Linked DNA regions of Homo sapiens: regions 2, 3, 4, 5 and 6 are each linked to region 1. The links are contacts of gene promoters, found by promoter capture Hi-C in human tissues and cell types (Jung and others, 2019). All regions are on one chromosome and are shown on one strand. The core of a region is centred on a gene start or on the middle of the fragment in contact, and the rest is flanking DNA. Distances in the headings are between cores, read along the strand shown.

Evidence for each region. Contacts are between HindIII fragments. The study calls those that stand out against the background at their distance.
Region 2: the fragment with the promoter of ZNF823 here is called in contact with a fragment that was not itself captured in region 1 in 8 of the 25 tissues and cell types used here (IMR-90 fibroblasts, bladder, dorsolateral prefrontal cortex and 5 more).
Region 3: the fragment with the promoter of ZNF69 here is called in contact with a fragment that was not itself captured in region 1 in 4 of the 25 tissues and cell types used here (dorsolateral prefrontal cortex, hippocampus, lymphoblastoid cells and 1 more).
Region 4: the fragment with the promoter of ZNF440 here is called in contact with a fragment that was not itself captured in region 1 in 6 of the 25 tissues and cell types used here (H1 embryonic stem cells, aorta, bladder and 3 more).
Region 5: the fragment with the promoter of ZNF439 here is called in contact with a fragment that was not itself captured in region 1 in 7 of the 25 tissues and cell types used here (H1 embryonic stem cells, aorta, dorsolateral prefrontal cortex and 4 more).
Region 6: a contact is called between the fragment with the promoter of ZNF441 here and a fragment that was not itself captured in region 1, in 1 of the 25 tissues and cell types used here (dorsolateral prefrontal cortex).

Annotation. Positions count from the first base shown.
Region 1 is chr19:12,188,552-12,191,804 of GRCh38, forward strand. It overlaps ZNF136 (zinc finger protein 136), which reads left to right. Exons shown (of 4, transcript NM_003437.5): 4 at 1-1,320. Among named protein-coding and RNA genes, the nearest start is that of ZNF136, 27 kb to the left of the region's middle. The HindIII fragment of the contact is 7,748 bases long and covers 1-3,253 here.
Region 2 is chr19:11,737,110-11,740,328 of GRCh38, forward strand. ZNF823 (zinc finger protein 823) reads right to left here and starts at 1,837. Exons shown (of 4, transcript NM_001080493.4): 1 at 1,708-1,837. The coding sequence starts at 1,710. RefSeq lists enhancers at 1,211-1,340, 1,731-1,810 and silencers at 1,411-1,560, 1,821-2,015. The HindIII fragment of the contact is 18,648 bases long and covers 1-3,219 here.
Region 3 is chr19:11,886,121-11,889,381 of GRCh38, forward strand. ZNF69 (zinc finger protein 69) reads left to right here and starts at 1,662. Exons shown (of 4, transcript NM_001364730.1): 1 at 1,662-1,866. The coding sequence starts at 1,804. RefSeq lists an enhancer at 1,859-1,908. The HindIII fragment of the contact is 10,336 bases long and covers 460-3,261 here.
Region 4 is chr19:11,812,332-11,815,832 of GRCh38, forward strand. ZNF440 (zinc finger protein 440) reads left to right here and starts at 1,942. Exons shown (of 4, transcript NM_152357.3): 1 at 1,942-2,119. The coding sequence starts at 2,117. RefSeq lists silencers at 1-42, 1,777-1,856, 2,277-2,346. The HindIII fragment of the contact is 18,958 bases long and covers 1-3,501 here.
Region 5 is chr19:11,847,413-11,850,536 of GRCh38, forward strand. ZNF439 (zinc finger protein 439) reads left to right here and starts at 1,314. Exons shown (of 4, transcript NM_001348719.2): 1 at 1,314-1,518. The coding sequence starts at 1,456. The HindIII fragment of the contact is 2,018 bases long and covers 984-3,001 here.
Region 6 is chr19:11,765,336-11,768,661 of GRCh38, forward strand. It overlaps ZNF441 (zinc finger protein 441), which reads left to right and starts at 1,665. Exons shown (of 4, transcript NM_152355.3): 1 at 1,665-1,861. The coding sequence starts at 1,859. RefSeq lists an enhancer at 1,826-1,925 and silencers at 1,996-2,135, 2,586-2,695. The HindIII fragment of the contact is 15,674 bases long and covers 1-3,326 here.

The sequences.
Region 1 (3,253 bases), core at 701-3,200:
GAGGGCTCTGGCTCTGTGGCTTTGTGGGTTAAAGTACTTGTCTGGCAAACAGGAGATGCTGGATTTCAATCCCAGCAGGGCCTCACTAGTTGAGGTATTGAATTTGAACAGATGTTTTGGCTCTGGCTGGGTGTGGTGGCTCACACCTGTAATCCCAGCACTTTGGGAGGCTGAGGCAGGAGGATCACTTGAGGTCAGGAGTTTGAGACCAGTGTGCAAAACATAGCAAGACCTCATCTCAGAAAAAAAAAAAAAGTCATTTGAAAACTTCTAATACAGCAAAATCCTATAAATGTAAGTACTTCAAAAAGCCTCATGCATAGCGGGTCATGTAGTCTCTAGAAAATACATAACCTGATGGAAATGTAGAAGCTATATGTATATTTTGTTAATTAGTGGCTCATATTTAAAATAGTTCTCTGACTATGGATTTCAAATGCTTAATCTCACAAAGAAATGTTAAATTGATATAATCCTGTAAGTAATCTGAAAGCAATAGTGCATGAATTTCATAGGTAGTGTTGTTTTAGGTCAGTAAATAAAATATTTGTCTTTCCATTTTGAAATGTGTTTAATCCAACAATGAATTTAAATGTGTTTCTCATATTCAGGTATGTTAAATTGTATATGGTTGCTTAATTGTTCTGTGATTGAGGACCACTGAAAAATAAGTCTTAATAAATGTTGGTATGAACCTACTTGCTTCATTTAGCAGGTTCTTGATTCCCTTTCCACATTATATACATTCCATCATATTTATTGGAACAGCTCCTTTTTTTTCCTTTTTTCTTTTTTCTTTCTTCTTTTTTCTTTTTGAGACAGGGTCTCGCTCTGTGCTCTGTTGCCCAAGCTGGAGTACAGTGGCATGATCTCGGCTCATTGCAACCTCTGCCTTCTGGGTTCAAGTGATTCTCCCACCTTAGCCTCCTAGGAAGCTGGGACTACAGGCATGTGCCACCACACCTGGCTAATTTTTTGTATTTCTAGTAGAGATGGGGTTTCACCATGTTGGCCAGGCTGGTAGAACTCCTGACCTCAAGTGATCCACCCACCTCAGCCTCCTAAAGTCTGGGATTACACGTGTGAGCCATCACACCTAGCCCATTTTTTTTTTCTTGGCTCAAATAATTTTATTTTGCTTCCTATTAAAGAGTTGTTGTTAATTCTAAGTATGTAAAGTTTATCACAGACTGTAGTCTCGTGAATTATTATTTTAACCTGTTGTTCTTTACTCCTTGTTATTTATTCTGGCTGCTCTTTGTATAATTGATTTTGGGATAAGGAGACAGCTATGATAGAATAATAAAATCTAAAATGGGAGATGCCTTTCATGGATTGTGTCATGTCAATCTGGGTAATGGGAACTAAACTTTTCAGACTTCATTTCTTTCTTTCTTTCTGAAATAGGGTCTCACTCTGTCACTCAGGCTGGAGTGCAGTGGCACGACTGTGGCTCACTGTAACCTCAAACTCTGGAGCTCAGGTGGCCTTCCGACCTCAGCCTCCCAAATGGCTGGAACTATAGGTATGTGCCACCAAGCCCAGCTAATCTTTTTATTTTTGGTTTTTCATCTTTTTTTTTTTTTGTAGAGATGGTGTCTTGCTATGTTGCCCAGACTGGTCTCAAACTCCTGGCCTCAAGTCACCCTCTAGCCTCAGCCTCTTAAAGCACTAGGATTACAGGCATAAGCCACTGTGCCTGGCCCAGAATTTCTTTCTTTCATGGTTACCTGTAGACTGCATCAATAGCCTAAATTCCTGGAAGTTTAGAATGCAGAAGTGAAGAACGCATTAGTCAGATTTTGGAGGCATCATACGGAGAGACAGATGCATATGGGCTGTTTGGACATGGTCATCTAGCCCATTTTCCTGATTCTTTGCCCTGCCAATCAAGAGTATCCTCAGCCGGGTGTGCTGGCTCACACCTGTAATTCTAGCACTTTGGGAGGCCAAGGCGGTCGGATCACCTGAGGTGAGGAGTTCGAGACCAGCGTGGTCAACATGGTGAAACCCCATCTCTACTAAAAATACAAAAATTAGCTGGGTGTGGTGTCGCGTGCTTATAGTCCCAGCTGAGGCAGGAGAATCGCTTGAGCCAGGGAGGTGAAGGTTGCAGTGAGCCAAGATCATGCCACTGCACTCCAGCCTGGGTGACAGAGTACAGAGTAAGACCCTGTCTCAAAAAAAAAAAAAAAAAAAAAAAAAAGAGTATCCTCTAATCCACCACTAGCTACTTCACCTCCATGTTCTCAAAGTTATGGATTTCCATAGATGTTTTTAAAAGCTTCATATCAAAGATTCAGCTGCCATTTGGATATTCCTGAAGGCCCTAATATATCTGCCAAGTAATCAGTTCATATTGTCATTGTTGGGAATAGTCTGATGATCTGACTTGGTTCCTGTACGGTCCAGTTTGTACATAAACATTTTTGTCCATAGGGACAGTGAGTGTTACTGATGCAGGTTGAGAGCTACAATGGCACTATCCAAAAACAAAACGAAAAACCCTACATGGAGCTTGTTCCTCTGCTGCATTATGCAGAGATGGGTCTCACCCCGTTCTTTCATGTGAGAATAAGCACCTTATTCATTATAGAAACATTGTGGGTGTTTCCTGTTACTCATAGCTGAATGCAGTCCCTCAGTTTATTTTGAATTATGTTTGAGTACATATGATTACAAACAATATACATGTCCTCCTCAAACAAAAGTTCTCTACACATTTCTTAGAAATATTAACAGTATGCAAGCAACTTGCATACTGTCTGGTGAGTTTTGTATTTATTGAGAATATATATTAAAATATCCCATTCCAATCATGGATCCGATAAACTTTATAATTAAGCTATTTGTCCAACATTGTGAGTCAATATTACTGTGAGCTTACAACTTCAGGCCTTTTTTTCCTCATAAATTTTAGTTTTCATGCTTATTTGATTACAACTTTTATGATGATAGTAGTTTTTCATATGCATAATACCAAAAGTCAAATCATGTTGTGAGTGATTTCTTTCCAAGGACTATCAGGGACGTCCCTGTTGTCAAGCAGGGTGTAATAAATTGTGGTAATAAATACTACCACAGGCCGGGCGCGGTGGCTCACCCTGTAATCCCAGCATTTTGGGAGGCCAATGCGGGCAGATCACTTGAGGCCAGGAATTGGAGACCAGCCTGGACAACATAGCAACACCCTGTCTCTACTAAAAATACAAAAATTAGCCTGGTGTGGTGGTGCACATCTGTAATCCCAGCT
Region 2 (3,219 bases), core at 587-3,086, 450 kb before region 1:
CCCCAAACAGTTCTGTAACCCAGGACCAGGACACCATAGAGGGTGGGCTGACAGATCACCCTGTGCCATTTGCAAAGAGGAACCTCGACTGAAAATATTCGGGTATCTCTGTGTAGACAAGATAAAGGACAGCCACACATGCACTATTTTTTTTTTCTTTTTCTTTTTTCTGAGACGGAGTTTCACTCTTGTTGCCCAGGCTGGAGTGCAATGGCGTGATCTTGGCTCACCGCAACCTCCGCCTACCGGGTTCAAGCAATTCTCCTCCCTCAGCCTCCCAAGTAGCTGGGATTACAGGCATGAGCCACCACCCCGGCTAATTTTGTATTTTTAGTAGAGACGGAGTTCCTCCATGTTGGTCAGGCTGGTCTCGAACTCCCGACCTCAGGTGATCCGCCAGCCTTAGCCTCCCAAAGTGCTGGGATTACAGGCGTGAGCCACCGCGCCCGGCTTTTTTTTTTTTTTTTTTTTTTTCACACTGGAGTCAAGTGGTTATTCTTTGCTTCCTCACATGTGAAATGTTCACAAACACAAAAACACATCTTTTAAAAAGAGCCATACATTGCTATGTGAAAAGAAAGTGACAATTAAAATAATGCCTCTGTTTGAAATATTGCCTGAGGGACAAAGAGTTCATAAAGTTGCTGGGAATTGATGAGAGACAGTTAGCCTGGGGAAGGCTCTGAAAACCAAGAGATTTGCTGCCAGCCCTAGGAGGAGTTAGGATGAGGGGATAGGGTGGTGGATTTGAGACCCTGCTGCCCACATCTTTGGAAGACTCGGAGGGAAACCGGTCACCTTTGGGAAGAAAGAAGGGACTGGGGAACCCACAGATCACAGCTTCTCTTCCAAAGCACAAAGCCCACACACACGAGTCTGGATTCTGCCTGGTGACCCTCCGTTGTCACCGTGCAGCGTCCTCACCGGGTTCACAGGAACTGCGAGCCAGGCTGGAGGCGAGATTGCAGTTAGATATTAACCAGGTGCCCTCAGCCCCGCTGCCTCACGGGGCCGCCTCCCTGAGAGTCAGGTCACAGCAGACGCTGACCGCCGGCTTCCTCATCGTGCCCGGGGATAAGATCTCTTGAGAGTTGCTCACGGGTCGCCTCAGTTCTTTCTCGGATCCTGAATTGCAGCGGAAAGGCTGGCGCCAACCAGGCTGAAGACCCCACAAGGGAACCCACTCAGCAGAATGCGGTTTCTTCACCTCCAGTCCCAGGAGTCACCTCTCACTTCTCCACCAACCAGCGACCCCACACTCCAGCCGTCCCTGTCCACACCTCTAAACACCCCATCCCCAAACCTCTCAGGGAGGCGGATCTGGGGTGTCCTCCCCTCTCCCCCATTAAACTGTTTCTGCTGCAGCCTTCGGCGTCTCGGTGCAGTGACTCGGGCCGTGAACCTGTGCCGGTTACAACTGCACAATCTGGGGAGACGCGGAGCTGCGGGCGCGGAGCTGCCCAGAGAGGGCGCCGGGGCCGGGGCCGCAGCGGCCGAGCAGGGACGGGACAGGACGCCCGGGGTCCCGGCTGCCGCCCCAGCCCCATCTTGCGGCCCAGGGGACCAAGGGCAGAGCTGCGCCAGGGGCACTGGGATTTGCAGACCCCGGAGTCGCCCAGGGCGAGGCCCGGGTCCCCTCACGGTCGGTTCCGGCCGGTTCCAACCTGCCCCTTCTTTGCCTCGGGACGCCGGGCCCCGCACACTCACCATTTCCCAGCTTCCAGGTGTCCGGGTGTCCTCCTTAAAAGCCAGTGTGGGTCCCAGCGCGACAGACGCTGATACAGACCTTCCAGGGCGTCTCTCTCTCAGCGCCAGAGCCAGGACTCAGAGCGCAGGGGCGTGGAGAAGACTCCGCGGGCTCTTTGAACGTCGCACCCTCCTCCCTGCAGCGTGCCTGATTGACAGTTCTCACAATCCCCGCCCCCTCATCCCTGATTGGATAGTGCTCCAGGTCCCGCCCCTTGGTGGCTGATTGACAGAAGAAGCGATCTCACAGTGCTGAGTGGAGCCGGATGAACAGGTTCCAGGCACGACCCTTGGCAAGGCGGGCTTCCTCCCAACGGAGTGACCTGACCCCTCCCGAAGTGACGTTTGCATTTTAGAATTTCCTGATTGTATTCAGTGGGTTCTTCCTGCTTTTTCCTCCTGGACAGGGACTCACAAGTGTGTGCAGGGAATTCCAGGCTCCCTGTCCAGTGGAGCCATTCCCGGACCTCGGAGCAGGAGGGGAGCCCGGGGCACACAGGCCACCCTGCAGCAGGAGGGAGGGCCTGATGTCCTCCAGGGATCAGGAATTTGGGATGAGGCTGTTGGCGACGTTGCCAAGCCTTTCCCTCACCTTATCTCTCAATCTACTCATTTTCAGCCCAGAAGATAAAAACAGGACAACAAAATAAAATAGTTGAGTATGTGGAAAAACTGGAATTATATGGCAGCAATATTTCATAAAGAATCAAAAGAGAAGAAAAGCAAAAACTTGAACAAGCTCAGAGAAGCAGCCTACTGCACTCACAGTTCACAAGCAGACCCCCTTTCAGGAGGTCAAACATATCCCCAAGCTGGGAAGCCAGGCAATGATTCCTAAAATGGAGCTCCGGGGTGGATCAGAAGCTGGTGATAAGGGAGGGACAATTAAGAATTTTACTCTGAGGTCTCAAAATACCTGTCCCCTCTGCACAGCGTGGAAATGCTCCCTCCTTATGCCATTAAATGTTAATGAATTAAACGCTCCAATCAAAAGCCAAGACATCACACTTTGAATTTGAAAACATTAGCCTTTCTCCATATGTTTATGAAGTAAAAATACTAGACTTAAAAGCGTTATGGCCGGGCGCGGTGGCTCACGCCTGTAATCCCAGCACTTTGGGAGGCTGAGGCGGGTGGATCACCTGAGGTCGGGAGTTTGAGACCAGCCTGACAAACATGATGAAACCCCGTTTCTACTAAAAACGCAAAATTAGCCGGGTGTGGTGGCACGCTCCTGTAATCCCGGCTCCTCAGGAAGCTGAGGCAGGAGTATCGCTTGAACCCGGCAGGCAGAGGTTGCAGTGAGCCGACATCACACCACTGCACTCCAGCCTGGGCAACAGAGCGAGGAAAAAAAAAAACTCCATCTCAAAAAAAAAAAAAAAAAAGCGTTATGAACTAGAAGCTGGTAGCCATGGCTAAATAGAAAGGAGCTGAACATGAGATGTCAATAGATGAAATGAAATCTTCAAT
Region 3 (3,261 bases), core at 412-2,911, 300 kb before region 1:
GGTTCATGCCATTCTCCTGCCTCAGCCTCCCGAGTAGCTGGGACTACAGGCGCCCACCACCACGACTGGCTAATTTTTCGTATTTTTTAGTAGAGACGGGGTTTCACCATGTTAGCCAGGATGGTCTCGATCTCCTGACCTCGTGATCTACCCGCCTCAGCCTCCCAAAGTGCTGCGATTACAGGCGTGAGCCACCGCGCCTGGCCTCTCTGAGTTTCTCTTCAAAGACTTAGCCTGCTAACTTCCTTGTCTTTTGTTCTCCAGCTCAACTTTCCTGTTCCTCCTTGCCCCTAGTTACTGTAAAACAGCCTACCCCCTTCCCGTCAGCTCTAATCAATAACTCACATCTGTTCCCTTGGTTACCTGTACCCATTGTTCCCCCGAAACTGCACGTCTCACACGCTCCATCTCTGTACCTCACGTTCCCCTCTCCTTCTATATTTAGAAAAATACGTACAAGTAGCCAGTCGGGTCAGCTCAGATTGTGTGGTCGAACCCCAGCCCATGAAGGAGTGACACAGAGATAGGGACCGCATTAAGGATAAAAAAACCCCCGGTGACCTTTGTTCTCTGTGCTCTTGTGATCTTGATTGACACAAGTGGCACACTTCTGCAGAAGTAAATTGCCTTGCTAAACAAATGAAACTTTCCCCTAAGTGCTAGTTTTACTTCGTGGGACCAAGAATTTATTCCTAAAGCATTTTATATCCGACAGAGATATTCATATATATAAAGAAAATGTGGGCCAGGCGCGGTGGCTCACGCCTGTAATCCCAGCACTTTGGGTGGCCGAGGCGGGTGGATCACTTGAGGTCAGGAGTTCAAGACCAGTCTGGTCAACATGGTGAAACCTTGTCTCTACTAAAAATACAAAAAATTAGCCAGGCGCGGTGGCATGTGCCTGTAATCCTAGCTGCTGGGGAGGCTGAGGCAGGAGAATCACTTGAACCCAGGAGGCGGAGGTTGCAGTGAGTGGAGATTGCACCACTGCACTCCAGCCTGGGGGGACAGAGCGAGGCTCTGTCTCAAAAAAAAAAGAAAAGAAAATGTGTGAAGATCAGGCTAGAGACAGAAATGTTTGGGAGCGTCACCTGGATAAAGGGTTCATGAAGTTGGCAGTTTATTTAGGTCAAAAGCTTAACTTAACCCCTGGAGAGAGTTTCCTGCTGGTGAAAATGAAGATCTGGAAGGAGGAAGCATTTTCACACTGTGAGGAGGGGATGGGGGTGTGAGAGCAAGTCTTAGCCATGCCTCATCCCCAGTTGCGGCCCGCTCCAAGACATATGCCTCTCCTCCTGGCGCAGTCGTGTCTGGCCTGGTCTCGGTTCCCCTGCTGCTCTGAGGCAGGAGATGGCTCCTGTGGACACTGAATCTGAAATTCCCTGCACACTCCTGTGACCCCATGCAGAACGAAGGAGCAGGGACAGTCCCTTGAGTGAGGAAGACGCTAGTGTTCTCCTCTATCAATAGCAAGTTTGGCTGAAATGCAAATATCCAATAACCAGAGTGCAGGAAGGAGCTCGCCCTTGGAAAAGCTGTGGTCAGAATCCGTCTGTCTGGCTCTGCAGGGCCCGATACCCAGGGCTTCCGCTGTCACTCAGACATGGGGGGCGGGGCCTAGCATTCCATCCAATCAGAGGCATTGTGGCGGGTCCCTGCCCACTGTTCCTCCAGACACTGAGGGGGTCGCATTCCTTACCTCACCTTTGTCCCTGCGCGGGCTGCGGCTGGGATCCGGTCTTTCCAGCCCCGAGAGGGACCTGGTTCCTCTGCCCAGGCTTCTGTCACTCTGTCACCTACGCTATGCCCTGCTGTAGTCACAGGAGGTGTAGAGAGGACCCCGGGACATCTGAAAGCCAGGAAATGGTGCGTGTCTGGGGCCGGGTGTCGTGAGACGGGGGAGGGGCTGCCTGGACCGACCGGAACCGACTGTGGCGAGACCCTGGCTTTCCTGCGGGCGACTTTGGGATCTGGGACCGAGTCCTCCTGGAGCCGCTCGGCCCTCGGTCCCCTCGACTGCTCGGTGTGGCTGGGCCGGTAGCCGGGACACCAGGCGTCCTGTCTCGTCTCTGCGCGGCGACTGCGGTTCCAGAGCCCTCTATGGGCAGCTCCGCGCCCGCAGCCACGCGTCTACCCAGATTGTGCGGGGGCCACGGGAGGGTCATGTGGGTGATCCCGACTCGGGTGTGGGGTTCGTGCTTGGGAGGAGCAGCGGTCTGTGGGGCCCCCAGTGTCCACTTTTTCTCCTGTTAAAAATTAAACTGAGGAACGTTAACAAAGAGTTCATTTGAGCAAACAGCGATTCACGAATGAGACACACCCAGTCCTGGCTTGTGGTTTGTCAACGGAAAAAGCCAAACTATGTAAAATAAAGAAGTTTATTCGGAGCCGAATAGGAGAGACCTTGGCCGAGGGAAAAACAACCCCAAGAAGCCTGGAGTAAGTGGTCCCGAGGCGGCTCAAGACAGTTTGGTTTTATTCATTTTAGAGAGACAGGAATTGCAGGGAAAATCATGAATTAGTGCCTGGAAGGTGTAATTTCCTTAGGCAGAAAGGGAGGGACCTGGCCGGGCACGGTGGCTCACGCTTGTAATTCCAGCACTTTGGGAGGCCAAGGCGGGCGGATCACCTGAGGTCAGGAGTTCAAGACCAGCCTGGCCAACATGGTGAAACCCCGTCTCTACTAAAAATATAAAAAAGAAACTAGCCGGGCGTGATGGTGGACGCCTGTAATCCCAGCTACTCGGGAGGCTGAGACAAGAGAATTACTTGAATCCAGGAGACAGGTTGCAGTGAGCCCACACAGTGCCACTGCACTCCAGCCTCAGCACAGAGTGCGACTCTGTCTCAAAACAAAAACAAAAACAAAAAACAGAAAGGGCGGGACCTGTGGAAGGGGGGTTAGAAGGCACAGGTGGTTGAGGGATTCTGTAGGTGGCAGCTGGTTGAGAGTGTGAAGCTTTGTCTAAAGTTTGGAGGAGGTAGGAAGGAATGCTGAAGGAAGGGGGTCTGTTATCTGCCACTTGATTCCATCCCAGCCAAAAAACAGACCTGTTTCTCTAGATTTTATGAATTCTAAGGTGTGACTTACCCTTGTCTTGCGTGGCCTTAGGTCTTGTTTGTAATTTGGTATCTTCTTGCCACAAGGAGTCTGTTTTTCCAGTCAGATAATGTCTGTTTTTACATGAATGTGCGTCAGTTGCTGCATGTAAACTCCTAAAGGGAGAGGGTATAAGGAGGCCTGTCTCACCTCCCATCCTG
Region 4 (3,501 bases), core at 692-3,191, 380 kb before region 1:
TAACATCCACACATCCTGTCTGGGGGACTGGATTTCTGAGTTGTGCTGAGACTTAAGAGTGGAAAAAAAGTCTACTCTTTTTCCTCTGCTCTCACACAACACGGAATACTTCTGTGACCAAATGCAAATATTTGAGAAGTGTCCCCCACATGCCAAGCAAAGCATCAATTCTGCAACTGACTCCAGCTCGATGTCTTCTAGTTCCAACACTTTCTACCTTTACATAAGGTACAAAACTGCCTCAGAAATCATCTGACCATGTGTCCCGGTTTGCCAGTGATAATCCTTGATAGTACCTGTTGTCCCAACATAGTTTTTCATAGCACCTCATCTTGCCATGGTTATCTGTGTCTGAACAATGAATATGTATGAATACTTTCACACATAAGCAAAATTAGGTTTATTAAATGAAGTTTCCAGGAATGTTCAAATTTCAACACCTGATTTACCTTATCACAAGTTATGGCTGTGCTAATTTCTCCAGGAAATATTCACAGAATATTGAATTTATCATTGTAAGGTGTGGAGCAATGAAGATGCCCAAGAGGCCAGGCGCACACCTGTAATCCCAACACTTTGGGAGGCTGAGGCTGGAGGATCACTTAAGCTCAGGAGTTTGAGATCAACCTGAACAACCGAATGAGACCTCATCTCTACCAAAAATAAAAAACTAGCCAGGCATGGTGGCAGGCACTTGTAGTCCCACCTACTTAGGAGGCTGAGGTGGGAGGATTGCTTGAGTCTGGGAGGTTGAGGCTGCATTGAGTAGCCATCGCACCACTGCACTCCAGCTTGGGCGACAGAGTGAGACCCCGTCTCAAAAAAAGATGGCTAAAACATAATTTTTTTTTTTTTGAGATGGAGTCTCACTGTGTCTCAGGCTGGAATGCAGTGGCACGATCTTGGCTCACTGCAAACTCTGCCTCCCGGTTCAAGCAATTCTCCTGCCTCAGCCTTTCAAGTAGCTGGGATTACAGGCATGCGCCACCATTCCTGGCTAATTTTTGTATTTTTAGTAGAGATAGGATTTCACCATGTTGGCCAGGCTGGTCTTGAACTCCTGACCTCGTGATCCACCTGCCTCAGCCTCTCAAAGTGCTGGGATTACAGGCATGAGCCACCGCGCCCGGCCTGCCTAAATCATAATTTCTATGACAGAATTTCTCATTTACAGCTTCCCCTGAGACCATCTTTCATTTCAGTTAACCCTGCTCCTTGGGGGTTATATGTGAGATAAAAGTGCCATGCTATATCATGTTCCCTGGCTCAGTCCTACACAGCATGTCCTGAAAAATGGGTCTTCAGTCACTGTCAATGCACCAGGGATAGATATACATAGTACTGAGAGCCTCTAAATCTTTAATAAGTTCTGGCTTGGTTAGCTCCCTTACAAGGAAAACCTTGCTGGAGTCCATAGCAGTGTGAGGAAGCCTTGGCCATGCCTCATCCCATTTCCCGCACGCTGGAAGACATCTGCCTCTCTCTCCTGGTGCAGTCGTGCCTTGCCTGGTCTGGGCTCCCCTCCTGCTCTGAGGCAAGCGTATCTCTCCATTGAACACTGAGTCTGAAATGCCCTGCACACACTTGTGATCCCGTGCAGAAGGAAGGAGCAGGGACAGCCCCTTGAATGAGGAAGCTAACAGTGCCTCTTCTAACAATAAGGAGCAAGTCGCCTTGAAATGCAAATATCTGATGACCAGGGCTCAAGGAAGGCGCTCGCTTAGAGAGGCTGTTCGCTTAGAGAGGCTGCTCGCTTAGAGAGGCTGCTCGCTCAGAGACGCTGTGGCCAGAACAAGTCAGACATGATCTGCAGGACCCGGTTACCCAGGGCTTCTGCTGTCACTCAGCACGGAGGAGGCGGGGCCTGGCGCCCCATCCAATCAGGGGTGCTGGGGCGGGGCCCTGTCAACTGTCCATCCGGGGAAGGGGGAAGGGACAGTCGCCCTCCGTCCATTCCTTTAGTGCTGCGCCGACAGCGGTCAGGATCTCGGCTTTCTTGCTTCGAGAGGGACTAGGTGCCTCCACCAGAGCTTCTGTCGCTCTGTAACCTGCACTGTGACCTACACTAGTCGCGGGAGCCACGCAGAGGACGCCGGAACACCCTGGAAGCCGAGAAATGGTGTGTGTGAGGGGGCTGGCGTCCGGGCGACTGGGAGAGGGGCTGGAATCGGCCGGAACCGGCTGAGGCGGGACCCGGGCCTCCACGCGGCGACTCCGGGGTCGTGGACGCGAGTCCCCTCGGTCGCAGGGTGGGGCTGGGCCGGCAGCCGGGACCCCGGGCCTCCTGTCCCGTCCCTTCACGGCGACTGCGGCCCCGGCTCCGGAGCCTAATCTGGGCAGCTCCGCGTCTCCCCACATTATGCGGGGGCCACGGGAGGGATATGGGGGGATCCCGCCTCGGATATGGGGTTTGTTAGAAACAAGTGCCCGGTGCCGCAAAGAAAACCAGCATCTAGGCAGAAAATTCCTCAGCAAAGCAAATTTATTTCTACACAAGGGTGCAGCTTGCGCCAGTCACAAGAGCACAGCGAGCGGGGTAGGGCAGGGGTTTTTCTCCTTAACGCAGTTTCTAGCACTTCTGTGTCCTTTCCTCATTGGCTAGGGTTGGACCTCACAATCTAAACTAACTCGATAGGCTAAGGTTTAAAATTAAATAGGGTCTGGCCAGGCGCGGTGGGTCACGCCTGTAACCCCAGCACTTTGGGAGGCCGAGGCAGGCGGATCGCGAGGTCAGGAGATCGAGACCATCCCTGGCTAACACGGTGAAACCCCGTCTCCACTAAAAATACAAAAAAATTAACTGGGTATGGTGGCGGGCGCCTGTAGTTCCAGCTACTCGGGAGGCTGAGGCAGGAGAATGGCGTGAACCCGGGAGGTGGAGCTTGCAGTGAGCCGAGATCGCACCACTGTACTCCAGCCTGGGCAACAGAGCGAGACAACTGGGCAACTCCGTCACACACACACACACACACACACACACACACACACACACACAAATTAAATAGGGTCTATGAGACGGGAAGGAACAGGGACTGTCCGTTACTAGGCGGGAAGGCGTATCTGGACTTGTCTGGGCGCGGCAAAAGCGGGAAGGTTGTTTACAGAACAGGTAGCTAGGAGACAAGGAAGTCGGTCTCAAGAAACAAAGAACAGCTTACTAAAGCTTTTAGAAAAGTAATTTATCATCTCTGACAGGTTCGTGTGGGAGGAGTAGCGGTCTTTGGGGTCCCCAGTGCCCACTTTTTTCTGTTAAAAATTAAACTGAGGTACGTTAACAATTAAAGAGTTTAGGGCCGGGCGCGGTGGCTCACGCCTGTAATCCCAGCACTTTGGGAGGCCGAGGCGGGCGGATCAGGAAGTCAGGAGTTCAAGACCAGCCTGGCCAACATGGTGAAACCCCATCTCTACTAAAAATACAAAAATTAGCTGGGCATGGTGGCGCGTGCCTGTAATCCCAGCTACTTGAGAGGCTGAGGCAGAAGAATTGCTTGAACCCAGGAG
Region 5 (3,124 bases), core at 64-2,563, 340 kb before region 1:
GTCCCAGGAGCCCCCATCTGTGCTCTCCCGGGCTCCAGGCCCTAGAGCCGCGCTGCTGCAGAGCCCAGTTCCCAGGGCTGCTCCCTCCACGTATCCACATCCATCTCCAGCTTTCCACCCTTTCTCTGACCAGACAGGCCTGGAGGTGCTGCAGTGTCAGTGACCGTGGGTCCCTCCGCTGCCACCTCCACCGCGATCTGGAAGTCTTTTAAATGTACTTAAGTTATCTTAGAATTTTCCTTCCCCACTTTATACATAAACATAGGAGGAGAGCAGGGACTCTGCTGGTGTCTTATTCACACAATGGGATTGAGGGTGTTTGTGTCATGGAACTGATCAATGGGGTGAGAAGTAGCTGAATAACCTGCAGGGGCAGCAGAGCCCGAGGCCAGTGACTCCACGCTGAGGCCAGTCTGGAGCCTGCAAAGGAAGGGAAAGGAGCTTTTCCTGGGGGCTTCCTGGGCAGCCCGCCCTCCCCTACAGGTGGCCTCCAGCTGCTCAGAGCAGCTCCAGAAGGAGTGTGGATTCCGAGAAGCTGTAGGGCCCTGGAAAGCAGAAGACCTTCGTGCAGACGCATTTGTGGGGTTCTGTCCTTTCTGGTGTTGTACCTCTGGAGCCTGGGGCTGTCTTCTGGGCAGGGTTTGGGGTTTGACATACATGGGGTCGCTGGAGTCAGAGTTATTTGTATATATAAAGAAAATGTGTGAAAATCAGGCTAGAGACACAATTGTTTGGTGGCGTCACCTGGATAAAAGGTTTATGAGGTTGACAGTTTATTTAGGTCCGAAGCTTAACCCCAGGTGAGAGTTTCCTGCAGGTGAAAATGAAGATCTGGAAGGACGGAGCATTTTCATACTGTGAGGAGGGGATGGGGGTGTGTGAGCAAGTCTTGGCCATGCCTCATCCCCAATTCCGGCCCGCTCGAGGAAATATGCCTCTCCTCCTGGTGCAGTCTTGCCTGGCCTGGTCTCGGTTCCCCTGCTGCTCTGAGGCAGGAGATGGCTCCTGTGGACACTGAGTCTGAAATTCCCTGCACACTCCTGTGACCCCGTGCAGAACGAAGGAGCGGGGACAGTCCTTTGAGTGAGGAAGACGCTAGTGTTCTCTTCTAACAATAGCAAGTTTGGCTGAAATGCAACTATCCAATAACCCGAGTGCAGGAAGCAGCTCGTGTAAGCTTAGAGAAGCTGTTGCTAGAATCTGTCAGTCTGGCTCCGCAGGGCCTGATACCCAGGGCTTCCGCTGTCACTTAGACGTGGGGGGCGGGGCCGAACATTCCATCCAATCAGAGGCACTGGCTCGGGGCCCTGCCCACTGTGCATCCAGGCACGGAGGATGTTGCATTCCTGCCGTCACCTTTGTCGCTGCGAGGGCGGCGGTTGGGATCTGGCCTTTCCAGCCCCGAGAGGGACCTAGTGCCTCTACCCAGATTTCTGTCGCTCTGTCACCTGCGCTATGCCCTGCTTTACTCACAGGAGCTGTAGAGAGGACCCCGGTACATCTGAAAGCCGGGAAATGGTGCGTGTGCTGGCCGGGAGTGGTGCGATGGGGGAGGGGCTGCCTGGAACTGGCGGGACCCGGGCCTCCCTGTGGGCGACTCCGGGGTCTGGGACCGAGTCCTCCTAGAGCTGCTCGGCCCTCGGTCCCCGCGGCCGCTGGATGTGGGTGGGCCGGCAGCCGGGACTCCGGGCGTCCTGTCCCGTCCCTGCCCGTCGACTGCGGCCTTGGCCCCGAAGCCCTTTTGTGCAGCTCCGCGCCCGCAGCCCGACGCCCCAGCTTGTGCGGGGGCCACGGGAGGGTCATGCGCGGATTTCGACTCGGGTGTGGATTTCGTCCGTAGGAGGAGCAGCGGTCTGTGGGGCCCACAGCCTCCACTTTCTCCTGTTAAAAATTATACTGAGGTACGTTAACAAAAAGTTCATTTGAGGAAACAGCCATTCACGAATGAGAAACACCCGGTCCTGGCTTGTGGTTTGTCAACGGAAAAAAAACAGACTATGTAAAATACAGAAGTGTATTCAGAGCCGAGTAGGAGAGACCTTGGCCGAGGGAAACACAACCCCAAGCAGCCTGGAGTAAGTGGTCCGGAGGCGGCTCAGGACAGTTTGGTTTTATTCATTTCAGAGAGACAGGAATTGCAGGGAAAATGATGGATCAAGGCTGGAAGGTGTAAATTCCATTGGCAGAAAGGGTGGGACCTGTGGAAGGGGGGTTAGGAGGCACAGGTGGTTGAGGGATTCTGTAGGTGGCAGCTGGTTGAGAGTGTGAAGCTTTGTCTAAAGTTTGGAGGAGGTAGGAAGGAATGCTGAAGGAAGGGGGTCTGTTATCTGCCACTTCATTCCATCCCAGCCAAAAAACAGTCCTGTTTCTCTAGATTTTATGAATTCTAAGACGTAACTTTACCTTTGCCTTGCGTGGCCTTAGGTCTTGTTTGTAATTTGGTATCTTGTTGCCACAAGGAGTCTGTTTTTCCAGTCAGAGAATGTCTGTTTTTACATGAATGTGCGTCAGTTGCTGCATGTAAACTCCTAAAGGGAGAGGGTATAAGGAGACCTGTCTCACCTCCCATCCTGTCATACAGAGGCACTCAATTTTCAGGGTGTTTTGGGGGTTCCCTTGGCCAAGAGCCAGTCACTTCACTTAGCTGGGAAGGTACTTTGTTTGTTTTTGTTTTTGTTTGAGACGGAGTCTCCTTCTGTCGCCCAGGCTGGTGTGCAATGGCTCGATCTCGGCTCACTGCAACCTCTGCCTTCTGGGTTCAAGGGATTCTCCTGCCTCAGCCTCCTGAGTAGCTGGGATTACAGGCACGCACCACCACCCCCAGCTAATTGTTGTATTTTTAGTAGAGATGGGGTTTCACCATGTTGGCCAGGCTGTTCTCAAACTCCTGACCTCAAGTGATCCACCCCCCTCGGCCTCCCAAAGTGCTGGGATTACAGATGTGAGCCACATCGCCATGCCAGAAGATATGTTTTTATTTTTGTTTTACATGTTTAAGGCTAGGCTTTTATAAGGTACATGAGGAGACAAACCAGATAAATGCTTGATTGGTTGCAGAGATGCAGTCGCCTTATTTGGACTTGTCAACCGGAAATAATCAAAAGGTTCAGATTTCAGTTGGAAG
Region 6 (3,326 bases), core at 415-2,914, 420 kb before region 1:
TTATAAAGCCATCAGATTTCATGAGACTTATTCACTATCACGAGAACAGCATGGGAAAACCGCCTCCATGATTCAATTACCTCCCACTGGATCACTCCCATGACATGTGGGGATTATGGGAGCTGCAATTCAAAATGAGATTTGGGTGAGTAAGTCTCATGAGATCCGATGGCTTTATAAAGGGCAGTTCCCCTGCACACGCTCTCTTGCCTGCCGCCATGTAACATTTGCTTTTGCTCCTCCTTTGCCTTCCACCATGATTGTGAGGCCTCCCCAGCCATGCTGAACTGTGAGTCAATTAAACCTCTTTTTCTTCGTATCACCATGGGTGCCAGCTCCCAGTTAATAACGCTTTTTTTTTGTTTGTTTTTAAATAGAGATGGGGGTTTCACCACATTGCCCAGGCCGGTCTTGAGCTCCTGAGCTCAAGCAATCCACCCACCTCAGCCTCCCAAAGTGGTGGGATTGCAGGCATGAGCCACGGTGCCTGGCCTCATAATGCTTTTATATCTGGTATTCTTCATAAAAATATGAAGATGAATGTTTTCAAATTCAAAGTCTAATGTCTCAGCCTTTGATTGAAGCATTTAATTCAATAACATTTATAGGCTTGATGGAAGGAGCATTTCCACGCTGTGTTTAGGAGACAGGAGGGCAAATTGAACTCCCAGAGTTAAATCCATTAGTGCCCCTGACTCATCCCCAGGTTCTGATCCACCCTAGGGCTCCATTTCAGGAATTATCGTCTGGCCTCCAAGCTTTGGAATATGTTTGGCCTCCTGAAAGTGGTTGACTTGTGAACTGTGTGTGGATGCAGCAGGCTGCTTATCTGAGCTAGTTCAAGTTTTTGCTTTATAAAATATTGCCGCCATATAATTCCAGTTTTTCCACACATTTAACAATTTTATTTATTTCTTTTTTCTTTTTTCTTTTTTTTTTTTTTTGAGACGGAGTCTCCCTCTGTCTCGCCCACTCTCTCACTGCAGCCTCTGCCTTCCAGGTTCAAGTGATTCCTCTGTCTCAGCCTCCTGAGTAGCTGGGACTACAGGCGTGCGCCACCACATCCGGCTAATCTTTGTATTTTAGAGACGGGATTTCACCATGTTGGCCAGACTGGTCTCGAATTTCTGACCTCAGGTGATCCACCTGCCTCAGCCTCCCAAAGTGCTGGGATTACAGGTGTGAGCCACCACGCCCGGCTTTGTTGGGGTGTTTTTATATTCTGCACTGAAAATTAGTAGATTGAGACATAAGGTGGGAGAAAGGCTTGGCCTGTGCAGCCAACAGCCTCATCCAAAACTCCTGATTCCTGGAGGACATCAGCCCCTCCCTTCTGCTGCAGTGTGGCCTGGGCTCCCTTCCTGCTCTCAAATCAGGGGATAGCTCCACTGGACAGTGAGTCTGGAATTTCCTGCACAGACTTGTGGGTCCCTGTCCAAGAGGAAAAAGGAGGAAGGTCAGGACATACTGCCTAAATGCAAATGTCCCCTGGGAGGGGGTCAGGTCACAGCGCAGGGAGGAAGCTAGTCCTCTCAAGGCCTGTCTGGAATCTGTTTATCAGGTTCCACTCCGCTGCCCGAGATCGCTTCTTCCGTTACTCAGTGCCCGGGGGAGGGACCTGGCGCACTATCCAATCAGGGCCGCGGGGCGGGGTCGTGAGAACTGTCAATCAGGCGCACTGACCGGAGGAGGGTGCAAGGTTCAAAGAGCCCGCCGAGTCTTCTCCACGCCCCTGCACTGGGCTCCGGGTTCTGTCACTGAGAGACGCCCTGGAACGTCTGTGGCAGCTTCTGTCTCGCTGGGACCCGCACTGACAGCGGGAGGCAGAGGGAGGAACCTGGACGCCGGAAGCCGGGAAATGGTGAGTGTGTGAGGTCTGGTGTCCCGACGCGTGAGAGGAGAGACTGGTTGGAACCGGCCGGAACCGGCTGTGGTGGCACCAGGTCTTCCCCGCCGGCGACACCCTGGCGCAGCTCGGCCCTCGGTTCCCTCGGCCGCACGATGGGGCTGGGGCGGCAGCCGGGACCCCGGGCGTCCTGTCCCGTCCCTGCGCGGCCACTGCGGCCCTGGCCCTGGAGGCCTGTCTGGGCAGCTCCGCGCCCGCAGTCCTGCGTCTCCCCAGATTGTGCGGCTGTAACCGGCACAGGTTCGCGGCCCGAGTCACTGCACCGAGACGCCGAGGGCTGCAGCAGAAACAGTTTAATAGGGGGAGAGGGGAGGACACCCCAGATCCGCCTTCCTGAGAGGTTTGGGGATGGGGTGTTTAGGGGTGTGGACAGGGGCGGCTGGGGCGTGGGGTCGCTGGATGGTGGGGAAGTGAGGGGTGACTCTTGGGACTGGAGGTGAAGAAACCGCATTCTTCTGCTGAGTGGGTTCCCTTGTGGGGTCTTCAGCCTGGTTGGCGCCAGCCTTTCCGCTGGAATTCAGGATCTGAGAAAGAACTCAGGCGACTCTTGAGCAACTCTCAGAGATCTCATCCCCAAGCACAATGGCGAAGCCGGCGGTCAGCATCTGCTGTGGCCTGACTCTTGGGGAGGCGGCCCCGCGAGGCAGCGGGGCTGAGGGCACCTGGTTAATATCTAACTGCAATCTCGCCTCCAGCCTGGCTCGCAGTTCTGTGAACCCGGTGAGGAGGCTGCACGGTGATGACAGGTCACCAGGCAGACTCGTGTGTGGGGTTTGTGTGTGGGAGGAGTTGTGGTCTGTGTGGTCCCCTGTCCCTTCTTTCTTCCCAAGGGTGACCCGTTCGCCTTCGAGTCTTCCAAAGATGTGGGCAGCAGGGTCTCAAGTCCACCACTGTGTTCTCTCATCCTAACTCCTCCTAGGGCCGACAGAAAATCCCTTGGCTTCCAGAGCCTTCCTCAGGCTTTCTCTCCTCAATTCACAGCAACTTTATGAACTCCTTGTCCCCCAGTTTATTTTTCAAACAGAGGCTAGTATTTTAATTGTCATTTTGTTTATACATAGCAATATATGGCTCTTTGTAAAAGGTTTTGTGTTTGTGAACATTTCACATGAGAGGAAGCAGAGAAAAACCACCAGACATTTCGCTGTAAAAAAAATGAATATTAATAAATAAAATCTTTGTTACTGTCCTCCCTTCATCATCCCTAGACAGAGACACCTTTTGAGAATGTCTTTGGATTAAGTTTCCTCTTTGGAAACGTTACAGAGTGATGAGTCCCCAGCCCATCCTCTATGGTTTCCTGGTCCTGGGTTTCAGAGCTGCCTGGGGCCACCCCAAGATGCCCACAGCTGCCAAGTCTCTTGTAGTGTCAAGTGAATATCAGTCCCTTTGTCACTCCTCCCAGAGGACACCCTGAGGT